3 separate regions of the Homo sapiens genome follow, and all the other regions are linked to region 2. The links are contacts of gene promoters, found by promoter capture Hi-C in blood cells and fetal thymus (Javierre and others, 2016). All regions are on one chromosome and are shown on one strand. Each heading gives the region's core, a stretch centred on a gene start or on the middle of the fragment in contact. The rest is flanking DNA. Distances are from core to core; before and after follow the strand shown. Region 1 overlaps MYT1L (myelin transcription factor 1 like). Region 2 holds the start of ALLC (allantoicase). Region 3 overlaps MYT1L (myelin transcription factor 1 like).

What was found. The method cuts DNA at HindIII sites, captures the fragments that hold promoters and counts their contacts. A CHiCAGO score of 5 or more calls a contact.
Region 1: a fragment that was not itself captured here is called in contact with the fragment with the promoter of ALLC in region 2 in 4 of 17 cell types (M0 macrophages, M2 macrophages, endothelial precursors and 1 more); the score reaches 7.5 in M0 macrophages.
Region 3: a contact is called between a fragment that was not itself captured here and the fragment with the promoter of ALLC in region 2, in 2 of 17 cell types (M2 macrophages and total B cells). The highest score is 5.1, in M2 macrophages.

The regions. Positions count from the first base shown.
Region 1 is chr2:1,875,683-1,880,299 of GRCh38, reverse strand. All of the region lies in intron 18 of MYT1L (myelin transcription factor 1 like), which reads left to right. Among named protein-coding and RNA genes, the nearest start is that of PXDN, 130 kb to the right of the region's middle. The HindIII fragment of the contact is 837 bases long and covers 1,534-2,370 here.
Region 2 is chr2:3,656,766-3,661,078 of GRCh38, reverse strand. ALLC (allantoicase) reads right to left here and starts at 2,879. Exons shown (of 12, transcript NM_018436.4): 1 at 2,785-2,879. RefSeq lists a silencer at 734-1,010. The HindIII fragment of the contact is 6,896 bases long and covers 1-4,313 here.
Region 3 is chr2:1,896,229-1,900,393 of GRCh38, reverse strand. The region is part of intron 14 of MYT1L (myelin transcription factor 1 like); the gene reads left to right. Among named protein-coding and RNA genes, the nearest start is that of PXDN, 150 kb to the right of the region's middle. The HindIII fragment of the contact is 8,246 bases long and covers 1-4,165 here.

The sequences.
Region 1 (4,617 bases), core at 703-3,202, 1.8 Mb after region 2:
GGCCAAGAATGTTTTTACCTTTGCAGCCTACACTTTGGCAGCGTCAGCATATTGTTTGCTGAAGAGAGGGTGGCTTCTACTGACATTTTATTTTATCTTTAATTTGCCATATTTACCGGCTTCTTGACCAAATTGATCTGTTTGCCTTAAGCCATCTAAAAGGCAGTTTTCAAGGATGGTGGCTTGATTGAACTCAGAGGTAGGGAGCTCGACTCTCCCAGGGAATTAAGGTAAATTCCTAACTGTTCACTGAAGCTGGCTTTGTGATGTTTTTGGTTTTTATTGTGACAAATTTTGGAACATTTTAAATTCAGAAGAAAATCATGAGGAAGATTTTTAATGAAATGTTTCTTAGCATTCCATTCTTTCATTTCAAAATTATGAAACATTTAATACAAACATCAGAAACTACTGAATTGTATTGCATACTTTCAAACAAAAATCATGTCATCAAATCAAATGTAAAATAATGCATCTTATACAACCTATTTCAAAAATTTTTAAATACATTGATTTTTTAACTTCCGGATGACTTTTTAATATATACAGTATTCCTGTCACACATGAACAGAAGGAAGAATTTATTGTCCTTATAATTGTAAGTACTGAAGTTTTAAAGTTATTTAAAATATATATACACATATATTACTAAACTATAAATATATATTATTACTTTGCACACACACATTTTTTGTTATTTTTTGGTCTAGGTTTCAAAGATGGACACATTTCCTTTCATGAGACATGTTACATTGTTTGAGGTCTCTTCATATTTCACACCTAATTAAATTTGGCCTCTTCTAATTTGGAGGAATTCTGGGCTCCTCTGGAGTGGCTCTGAGAAGTGAGCTTTCTTGGACTTCATGGGCCCCCACATCTGACTCTGGGCAGCAAGAAGGATGAGAAGCCAGCACTCTGTGATGGGAGAGTCTAGTCAGAATGAGGAGGTTATGTTGTCCTTTAATTGTACATCTGAGGTTTTAATCTAGTAAACACTTCACTAATTTATAGTTCCCTGGAGCAAAATGAATGAAATTGGAAATAAAGTAGATGCTCCCTTTGGGAAATGATTGACAAGGATTTGGGATTTCCTGGCCATTTCAGGAGAGACTCGTTCTCTCCCAGGCGCTTTCTTGAGTGAAAGGCTTTGAAGGAACTCAAGGGCCGTTGGGTGCACAGGGGCCGGGGAAGCAGGAAAGCTCACAGCCACGTCTGCAATTTCAACCTATTGCTGTGCTCTCTCTTACATGTGATCTGTGGCCTTCCAGGGGTGGTGACTCAGGGAAATTACTTCTCTTCTCTTCTCTTGTATTGTTTTTTTGCATTTTTACAGAAAGAGGTTTGTTTCTGACACTAGTCAATTCCATTTAATGACATTTTAAAAGTCCCTAGGTTCTACAGGTGATTACATGTTTCTATTCATGAATGAGAGATGGAGACATCTCGTCTACCTCCAAAGAGAAATTGAGAATATTATAAGAATGTAAAGAGGTTGGACATCCCACACTTACCTGATGTTTTTAAGAAAAAGCTTTCTAATAATTAAAATAAAATGTGACTTGGTTATGGAAATGAGAGCCTGAAATGCCCGATGGAGCTTTCTGGGATGAAGTTGCCTGTTCTGTGCTGTCCCACATGAAAGTCACAAGCTGCTTGAATGAGGCTGCCGTGGCTAAGGAAGTGCATTCTTGATCGTATTTCATCTTCATTAATTCAAACTTAAATGCCCACATACACCAAGCAGGTGTACACACTGGACAGTGCCCAAGAGAACCTTACACTTATTTTATATTGTTCTTTGTGTGGTTTTTACTACACAAAGAACAAGAGAAATTATCTTAATTCTAATTAGAATTACATTCTAACAAACGTGTAGGAATATTCCATTTCTGAAACTGAACAGTTTATATTTTTTAAGCATCTGGCTTATACTACTAAGCCACTGACAAACAGTTTAATAATTTTTTATTAATATACTGGTATCTTTTTTTGTTTAATGCAGTTTGTAGACAGATTAAATGTGAAGTAAATGTCAGTGTTACCATTTTCAGAATGGAATACCTGCAAGCTGCACGGTGAGATGAGTGCAAACCTCACTGTTTGGGACGAGCACTGGGGCAGCACTCAATAGAAGTTACTGGAAAGACTCAGTTACACTATTGTGAAAAACCATGCAACTTGATTACTTTCAAGCATGGGCAGAAATTCACATTTAGTTAATCAGGTGTTATCAAAGAGAGGGCCACAGGCCACCTCCTTCAGTGACTAAATAAACCCGACGTAATTAACACATACATGGCTAATAATTGGGGCCTTCAAGTTCTTGGAAGCCTGTTTCCACCTGTATCTTCGATATTTCTCTCCCAAGCTTGCTGATGCATTAATTAGCACTACCTGCAGAGAAAAGCTTAGTCCACGGAGGGGGACCCCAGCACTTCCCTGGTCCCAGTTAGTTTTCATGTTGAATTAGGAAGATGTCATTATCATGCATTTTTTTTTTCTACAATTTAGGATACAAACAGGTGACCTATTTTAGGCAATTTTTGGTCTCAGAGCCAACTGAGAGCAAGCAGAGTTCAGCAGAACTGCTCACAGCCATGGCCGCGCCCGGAACCCCTGCCTGTCCCAGCACAGGCGTGCGAGCAGCCAGGTCCCATTCCTCAGCTCTCACCGTTCATGTCCCTCTCCCTTGGCCAAGTGCTGATGGCGTTCATCATGCACTCTTACTGAACAAGGATAAAAAATCTACCTGATATATAAAAGCACCTGCTTCTGGCACAAATGCATCCTCTTAGCAAAGGGGAGAAAATATCAGTCGAGCAAGGAAGTTTTTCAATGACTTTTTGGACATAAACCTAATATAAGCTCAAAAAATTGAGAAAGAAAAGACTTGGAAAAAAGAAAAAATATGTATAAACTCACCACTCTCACAGATATGTTTGCATTTTTGTGCAATCACAATGTGATTGAAACCTGCTTTTCTGCTTAGCATATAAGTCATATATCTTATTTTTAATCGCTGCATCATATTTCGGGGAAAATGTGTTTTTGCAGCTTCCATCATAGCCAACAAGTGATAAAAGTCTCCAGCACCAGGAATCCAGGCATTCTGAAGCCTGTGTTCTCCATGAGGGCTCCTTCCTCACCTATGCAGCTGCAACCACGGGGGTCTCCCCAGAGCTAGGGTGATGATAGGCAGAGCTTAGATGCTGAAGGGCTTTGCGGAGTGGGTTTTTCTGCTGCAGGGTTATAATTTATCCTACAGAACCACGGACTGACTGTGTGGTGTTCTCTGAGCTGTGGTCCTCCCGTGGGACCCTGGTCATAAGGAGACTCAGCTTGAGTCTCCAGCAGGGTGAGCAAGCCATGTCTGCGTCCTCCCCTGGTCTGACATTTGGGGAGACGGCGGACACATAGTCCCAGCATGCTTAGAAGACATCGGGATGCCAGCAGAGGAGGGGCAGGGAGAAAGTTCTAGAGCAGCAGAGCTGCATAGGCATCAGATCACCTGAGGTCACTGGTCTTGGCAGGACTTTAGTTCTGTCCTGAGTGAGACGTTGCTTCTCAAATCTCCCCGATGTCTTGCAGTTAGAGGCCAGTCCGGAGCCCTGGCAGTGGGGTGCAGGGCTGGGATGGGAGGCAGCAGGTGCTGAGGTTTCAATGGCGGCACGCATAGGGTCAGCTGCGGGGACTCAGTGTGGGCGAACAGCATCCAGGAGAGTCACCCAGAGGTCCACTCTGGCCACGGGCCATGGGGAAAGGTTGCCGGGGTGAGGGGTAGGCGCGGGCTCAGGAGCCCCAGATGGACGGGGGGGTCAGGGTCCCTGCAGGAGCTGTGTGGAGAGTGGAGGAGAGGGATGTCGTGCATGTGTGGGGGTGCTCTGGGGGCCTGTTCTCAGGCTGGACTCGGAGTCCTGGGCACGGATGGCACGAAGGCCACGCGTGGACGCATCACCAGGCAGTAGGTGTTGACAGACGAGGATGCCAAGACCCACCCCTTCTCACTCTCCCAGACTCTGGGGCTCAGGCCCACGCCCTGAGTCTGTTGCCACCCCCAGCGAGAGGGGCCCACAGAATCCGATTTTCTGGGAATTAAAATAACTACAAAATTTGGAAATTCCATCACAAAGATTTCTTCTCCAAATGTGCTACTCACCTGAGAGTACAGCATTCCCCTGCACATCACTGAAAATACCCGGGAATCAGGCGGCCAAAGAGACTTTCAATATCACTGCAGCCCTCAACCTCACCGCAGATGTGCACGTGGACAGAACTGTACTCCAGAAACCCGAAGTGTACATCTTTGTTAAGATATAACTACTGGGGATTATTTAAATAAGATTAAATAATGCGTTTTTCCTGTAACACATGAACAGAGAGATAGGGGCCCACTTTCAAGGGTAGAGAAGTTCACCAGCACAGCTGCACTAAGAGTGCAGAGCCCTGGGGTGGGAGAGGGAGCAGCGAGTTAATTCTTCCTCACTGGACCCTTGAACAAAGCAGGCCGAGGCTTAGGTGTGGCATCACTAGGTCAAGAAAGAATCGGAATGAAGGTCTTCTAGAGGAGATTTCTTTCCTGGCAATAATCTGATTATCAAACACGATCTGCTTCCGCTC
Region 2 (4,313 bases), core at 1,630-4,129:
GAGTCCGACCCCAGGCCTATGCTGTTTGAAACCACAGCCCCTCTCACTTTATTATGAAAAAAACAGTGTTAGATATAAGTCCTAAATTTCTCTTCAAAGAATCAGTATGTCAGTATGTTCAATTATTTGCCTTCTACTTTTAACTTAACTTCCTCATAAAGCAACCTTTTTTGATCACCTGCTCCACCCTGACTCATTCCGATCACCTGCTCCACCCTGACTCATTCCGATCACCTGCTCCACCCTGACTCATTCCGATTTCCTGCCCCACCCTGACTCATTCCGTTTTCCTGCTCTGCCATAACCATTTTTCCCACCAAACCACTCACCCCATCACTCTCTTTAAATCAGCCAATCAGAATTAGTTTAGCCTGTGCGGTCTAACCCTAGCCAATAGGGGAATGATACAGCAGCAGGGGCCACGTGCGTCAGGAATAAGAACCCCGTCCCCTCCCTTGTCCAGGTGTGCGCCATTGCTCCATCTGTGAGGGCACACCCTTCTATAGCAGTAAATGGTCTTGCCGAGAAGAAAAAAAAAATTGATATTCAAGGGCTGTTTCTTTGGCGGCACCGAAACTTTATTTATAATAACAGTAAAGGCAGCATCATCTCCCCAAATATCGCAAAATTTATTCTCTGTGTTCTCCCAGTGTCTTAGCCTATTTGTGTCGCTGTGAAGGAATGCCTGAGGCTGGACAATTCATTAAAAAAAGGGGTTTACTTGGCTCATGGTTCTGCAGGCGGTACAGAAAGCACGGCGCTAGCATATGCTTCCAGCGAGGGCCTCAGGCTGCTTCCACTCCTGGTAGGAAGTGAAGGGAGCCGGCGTGCAGCCACCACAGGGCAGAAGAGGAAGCGTGGGAGGGACGCCAGGCTCCTCCTAACAAGCAGCTCTCACCAGACTAACAGAGGAAGAACCGTCTCACCACCTCCAGAACGGCACCAAGCCATTCATGAGGGATCCGCCCCCATAACCCAGACTCCTCCCGCTGGGCCCCACCTCCAACACGGGGGATCTGATTGCACCATGAGGTTTGGGGGGACAAACATCCAAACCATAGCACCCCACAACCTCAAAGGCTGTTATGTGAAAAGTCTCCCCACCCCTAAGATAAAAAAATGTGAGAAAGGAGAGACCGTTTAAAGCTGGGCCTCCAGGCCACAGCACAGGCCCAACCAGTGTCTGCTGTGAAAGGGCCGTGACATTTGTCTTTCCTAAGTTTCTCTCCTCAGCCACAAATCCCAGAAGTATCCACAGTGGCCTGTGCTGTGCAGGGCCCCGTGGAGGTTCCCGAGAGATTCCAGGCAGCCAAGAGCTGGCGGTATAAGGGGCCGTTCTCAGCCCTGGTGGAGGTCACAGCTCCACGACTCTTGCGCCATGAGCTTGCTGAGCTCTCTGCTCACTGGTCCCTGCCGTTTCTGTTGATAAAATAGCCAAGGTCTAGGCAAGAAAGGAAGGAGCCACGCGACCTCGGCTGAGGCCACCAGCTCAGCAGCTCACAGTGCTCAGACAGCCTGTGGCAGCTGCTTCTAAGCTCATTGCTGCAACCCCTCCCACTGCCTGCTCAAGGGAGCTCTTAAATACATTTTCTGCTGTGGCTGAGACCAGACCCAGGGTCAGCTCTGATGTTTGAGGAACATGCTAAAGTTTTACCTGCAAATTTCAACTTAATCACCGCAAATGAGGAGCATTGTCATGGGTTACGGCAAGGCGATGAGGCAATGACTCTCTAAAATAGAGTCATGAAATTTCAGGCAGTCAAGTGGTGCTCACACTATTTTTTCTTTTGAGATTAGCCTTAAAATAAGAAAAGGCATGACCAGGCAAGTCTAGGAAGCACAAGAAAGAGAGACCTCCCTCTGACAAGCAGGGAAGGCTGTGCTGATGGAAGAGTTACTCCCTCGTAAAGAAGAAAACCTTCAGGGGCTTTGTCATCGCTGTCAATAAGTTCCGAAGAAGCCTTTGGCCAAAAGTATGAGATTTATGGTGAAATAATAAAAGTGGTTTGTTCAAATTTGGGACAAAATTAGAGTGACCTTGAGCAGGGACTCTGAGCAGCCCAAGGTCAACTGCACGAGACTCCTGACTACCGGCAACTCTTGGTATATATTTACATTTAGTTCTACTTTGTGACTCTTGTTTTGAATATAGGTTTACTTCACCATGGCCTTAGTTGTTTAGGTTTTTTTTTTTTTTTTTTTGAGACAGGGTCTCACTCTGTCATCCAGGCTGGAGTACAGTGGCATGATCTTGGCTCATTGCAACCTCCACCCCAATCCCATCCCGGGCTCAAGCAATTCTCCCATGTCAGCCTCCCAAGTAGCTGGGACCACAGGCACGCACCACCATGCCTGGCTATTTTTTTGATTTTTGGTAGAAATGGGGTCTTGCCATGTTGTTCAGGCTGGTCTCAAACTCCTCAACTCAAGCAATCCACCCACCTCGGCCTCCCAAAGTACAGGGATTACAGGCATGAGCCACCATGCCCAGCCTCTTTAGATTTTTTTTTAAGAAGGCCAAAGTCACATGATTTGAAACCAAACAGAGCAGTGACCAGAGCCCAGAAGCCTGACCCACCTGTGGGGCCCCTCCAGGTGTTTGGGCCACGCCCGGTACCAACACAGTTCAACGGCACAAAGTGGTGTCTGTCACCATCTACCCTCTGTCACCTTCCAAGTGTCGAGGGTTCGTTGCATGACTGAAATTCATCTCTGTCACCCTATTCTTTTGGCAAAGCCCACCTTAAAGATAGCAAGGTATTTATAAACCACACTCCAGCTCACCCAGCAGTCAGAAATCAAGTATTCATAAATGGATCTCTTGCTCCCCAGAAGCCAGCCAAGGTCCCACGGTGCTTGAGTGCCAGCTCAGAGAGAATGTATAGGGGCCTGAGGTAGAGACAGAACTTTGCAGAGATTGGCTGTGCCTGTATGATGTCACAAGGGTTGCAGAGAGGTGGAAGTAACAGGGGGAGCAGCCCCTCCCCGGAGAAGCCAAGCAGGCCTCTGCAAGACCCTCGCACAAGGCCCGAAGCCAGACATGGTCCCTGCTGGTCCCAGGGCCCTTCCCTGTCCCTAACAAAGCTGCCTCCGGCCACTGGCCTGGGCCTGAAACCCCCACCTTCCTGGTCCGGCCAGTAACCTGACTTAAAGTTTTATCTCTAGACGTCACCTATTCACTAATCATCATTAACTCAGAAAACACTGAGCACACCCAGCAGTGGGTCCTGACCTACTAGAGAAGACAGGGGCCCTTGGGAGGGTTTGGCTAGAGCCCCTCAGCCCCAGAAAAAGTAAATACACACAAAATTTTCATGGAATTTAAAGAAGCCCACAGATGCTTAAGAAAGGGCACCTTGCCAAGTGGATGCTAGGCCTGTGGCATACAAAACAACACGTGCCGCCTGCCTTCAAAGGCCCCACTGTCTGCAGAAGAACTTTCCATGCAGAAAGAAACAGCTGAGCCCGGCTTCGACATGCAGTAACAGACGTTGCCTTGCTTCACCACAGCCACCCTGCGGGGCAAGCTATCCACTCTGCAGATGAATCAGCTGGGGCCTTGAAGGCAGGAAAGCCACCCGAGGTCACCTGCGCAGGGAGGGACTGAGCTGGAACCAGAACCCAGCACAGCAGATGGCGCGCACAGGGGCCCTTGGGGCTCCAGAAAGACAACCTGCGTCCCAGGGAGATCCATCACCCACACGCTCCTTTTTCCTTCCTGGGTTTTCTTTCCCCAGGGCCTGACCGGCCTTCTCCTCCTGAACTCCAGCTTTCCCAGAGGAAAGCAAAGCCATTTGAAAGGCCGGCTCAAGGCCACCTCCAACTGAGAACCCCACCCCCAACCCCAGCCCGTCTCTCAGCCCCGCCACCCAGCCGTAGTTAGGATGCGTCCAGCGCCTGTTGTCTGATCTCAGCTCGCCCGGCCTTTGAGTCCATGTTTACACATCTGTCTGCCCATCCAGATGAAATTCTTTAAGAACGAAACCACATCCTATGCTGCCTTCCATAGCTGACTGTATTTTAATGAATTAATGCACGTGGCTTCGTCCCTGGCAGTTCTTGTCAGCCGTGACTTCCCCGCCACAGCAGTGCAGTGCCCCCGCTCGCCGCCTCGGATCAGTCACAAAGCTCACGGTGCGGAGAACAGAAGGGCCTATTTTTATCCTCGTGGTTTCGCTAAGCCTAGGCTGTGGCACCGATAAAGCCATGGAAGAAGGCACCCTGACCCCTGCCCTCCACACCCTGACCTCTGCCCTCCACACCCTGACCCCTGCCCTCCACACCCTGACCTCTGCCCTCCACACCGAGCTGGC
Region 3 (4,165 bases), core at 1,286-3,785, 1.8 Mb after region 2:
CGGGAGGCGGAGCTTGCAGTAAGTGGAGATCATGCCACTGCACTCCAGCCTGGGCAACAGAGCGAGACTCCATCTTCAAGAAAAAAAAAAAGCCTCCTGGAAAGTGCCCACTAGGACAAGACTGGCTGGTAGGTTGTTGATGGGGTGTAATCCAAGGAGATCTGGCCCCACTCCTGGGGACCAGGTAGGAGATTCTGACTGCAGAGTGACTGCTGTCTACAGTTACTCTTCAATGTATCTTTGCCAACACTTGCTTCAGGTGCACAAAGAATTGAGTCATTGTTCCTAAAAAGAGGCAGAGAAATGGGCCTGTCGTAAGGGAGAAAAGTACAGATCTTAGCAACCAAAGGTCAGGGCCATGGAGATACAGAATGAAATAAAACATAGGACCTTCCCTACAGCCTTGGAGAATCATCTCTTAAATCACACCAGCTGTGATCAAACCACTCACAAAATCTTCACTTCACCAGCTGCATCCTTCCAGACACAGCACACCAGTGCTTGCTGTCCATCTGTCAATCTGTGTCTGTCTATGTGTCTGTCTGTGTGTCTGCCTATCCATCTGTCAGTCTATCATGCCTTCCCTCAGGATACACAAGATAGTGAAACACACACTGCTGCCCAGTGAAGTGAGGAGTCCCTCTGCCTGCAGGATTAGCGTGTGCTTTACCAAAGTGGCAAACTTTAGGTAAGATCGTAGAGTTTGAGCAGAAATCATGCAAAAGTAGGGAAACACACAGGATGGTGAGCACAGCCAGTGGTCTGGAGGCCAGGACGGAGACCCGTGAGAAGGAAGAACAGGGAAAGCTGCGGGGGCTGCTGAGGAAGGGGCTTCACGTTGTCTATAGGAAATAGAAATCCACGCAGGCTGACAGAGGGGCTGAGGGGAGGAGGACTGAGCATCCACTTGGGTGTCTGGGCCCTGCCCTCTCCCGGGAACTCCAAGCCACAGCCCACCCACCCTGTTTTGCATGGTGAGCTAAGAATGGCTTTGACATTTTTAAAGAATTGCAGAAAAGCACAATTGACAAATAATATTTTCTGATCTATAAAAGCTGTGTGAAATTCTGTTTCCATGCCATGCATAGGGTGCCGTTGGCACCTGGCTGCCCTCAGGGCTTGGCGGGCAGGCTGCGGTTGCTCCCACAGTGCAGGGCAGAGCCAAGTGGCCACAAAAACAATCGCGCAGTTCCCAAAGCCGAAACATTTGCTACAAAATCCTCTCCAGAAAAAGTTGCCAACCCCTGGCCTATTATATCTCCACCTTTGCTGTGTCTCCAGGCAACACACCCCACCCTTGGGGGCCTAATCCTGTCAGGTTACCAGCCCCCAAATGGGCTCTGCCCATGTTCTCCTTTTGATTATTCCCAGCTTCCAAATTCTCCAGCGCTCAGACCTTCCTATCATCTTGGCACTTCCTCTTCTTTGCTCCCTGCCCTCCTGGCCACACAGACAACTCCCCTGACTGCCTGGGCAGCTGCAGACTCAGCTCATTCTCTCCTTCATGACTCCTCTGGAGTGCACCTCCCTGGCCCTCTGTCTCCAGCCCCACCACGCCCGCCTGCAGAGCTCCCTTCTTCCCTCCACCTGCCCGACTTCCCCATGGCCTCTCTACCTGAGCAGAGGCCGCTCCCTGGTGAAGTTTTCTCCTCCTGCAGGCAGTCCGCGGCCCTTCCTACCACTCTCCAGCTGCCTGCGTCCATGGAGCTCGGTGCCACACTCTGCCCTGCAGCATGGCTGTGTCACCTCTTGGGTACCACCTGCCAAGACGGCCTGTCTTCCCACGGGCCGCAAGCTCCTGCTAGGTCACAGGCCGGGTCTGCAGATTCGCTCCACCCTCTAGGGCCAGGGCAGGCCAGGCAGGCAGTAGCTGTGCCAAGGACACTGAGGAAAAGAGAGCCTGAAACCTGGACCTCGACGCCCTTTGGACATCAGCTCAACTCTAGCAAGTAGACCGTGTGCCTTGGAGATGTCATCCCACAGGCTAGAAAGCTCCATTCTTTCCCATGTAAGATTAGACGTCCGTATTTCAACTTACTTGAAACACTAGTTGGACGTGTGTAAAGACTATGAGACTCAGTGCCACAGATTAGGACCTGAATCAAGTTAGGTCTAAAGATCACTGGGTCCCAGCTAGTGGAGACATCTCCATGATGGACATCTTGTGATTGCATTTGTCTGGTTTTCATGGAAATTCATATTGTGGAGACATGTTTATCTATTCTCTGCAAGAAAAGGTGAATACATAAGGCAATAGGCATTTCTAGAACAAGGCATGTACATTTAGTAAGAATTTCACAAGCAGAGTAGGTGAATGAAAAGGTCCTACCTGGAAGGTTTTGTATTTTTTTGTTTTGTTTATTATTATTACATCAACAGCTGTATTTAATCACACAAATCCTGTGTGCTTTTCCTTTTTTCCTGCAGTAGAGGAAATGGAATAGTTGAAGAGGTATTTTTAGGATGGTTTAAGATCCAGCGGCTGCTCCTGTTTGAAGGCAGCTCTGGCATCTAGAGTTAAAGCTGCTGCATTGCTCGTAACATACAGTGATGTTCTGGGCGCCTGGAAGAACATTAACACATTCTTGTCTGCTGATGGACTGAAAAAAAATTTGATCAAAAAATAGCTCTGGGCCGGCGTGGTGGCTTATGCCTGTAATCCCAGGACTTTGGGAGGCCAAGGCAGGCAGATCACCTGAAGTCAGGAGTTTGAGATCAGCCTGGCCAACATGGTGAAACCCTGTCTCTACTAAAAATACAAAAATTAGCCGGGCATGGTCGTGGGCGCCTGTAATCCCAGCTACTTAGGAGGCTGAGGCAAGAGAATCACGTGAGCCTGAGAGGCAGAGATTGCAATGAGTTGAGATCATGCCACTGCACTCCAGCCTGGGTGACAGAGTGAGACTCCATCTCAAAACAAACAAACAAACAAAAAAAAAAAAAGTTTTGTTTGCGAAAAGAAAAAGAAAGTGCATTCTGTCATTGTGAAACTGCTCTCATCAGACCAAGCATCCTCTGTGCTGGAAGAGGGGGAACAGAGCACCCTCAATTTGAAGCCCCTGCTCTGCAGCGCCCCCTGCTGTCAGGGCACTGAGCCGAGCAATGCTGATTGTGGTCCAAAAGATACTGGCATGAAGGGCTGTGCTGACATTTTACAAATAGGGATAATTATTAGGACCAATGACCTTCCTTTCCTGAGCAATTTTAACTGTAGGCCCTCTTATTTTTATTTTTGTTTTAATTAAAACTTTTAAATGACATTTTTATATTCAGTAAAGGATGCATGTGAAAGTAGATACTGTCTTAGTTGCCCATTTGAGTGCAGTGAGTTGATAGGCACATCAAAAGACTCTTGACAGTTCAGTCACCGACTAAAATTCGGTACCATCCACTTGGCGTCATCTAGTTGTAGCATCTTATGAATTAAATATCTGGGAAAGTCAATGCATCGTCACATCTACATTTTATAACTTCAGGATAATTTAAGGTGATTCAAGTAAGATGAGAGGAAGAAATGCAGAGAGTCGTTTTAGTTAAAAATTCTTTCAAGTAAAATGTTGTCACATAGAGGTAGCATTTTTCTTTTTTGTTTCAACTTTTATTTTAGATACAGAGGGTACCTGTGCATGTTCATTACACGGGCATATTGCACCCAGGTAGTGAACACAGTACCCAAGAGGTATTTCTCCAACCCACTCCCCTCTCTAGTGTCCACAGTGTCGATTGTTCCCATGTTTATGTCCCTGTGTGCTCTATGTTTAGCTCCCACTTACAAGTAAGAACATGTGGTACAAAGTTTTCTGTCCCTGCATTAATTCATTTAGGTTTGTGGCCTCCAGCACCATCCATGTTACTGCAAATGACATGACTTTAGACTTTATTGTTTTTATGGCTGCATAGTATCACAGAGTGTCTATGTACCGCATTTTCTTTATCTAATCCACCACTGATGGGCGCCTAGGTTGATTCTGTGCCTCTGCTATTGTGAAGAGCATGGTGATGAGCATACGAGTGCATGTGTCTTTCTGGTACAACGATCTATTTTCATTTGGGTAAATCTCAGTAACAGGACTGCTGGGTCTAATGGTAGCTCTGTTTTAAGTGCTTTGGGAAAACTTCAAACTACTGTCCAGTAGCTGAACTAATTTGCATTTCCACCAAGAAT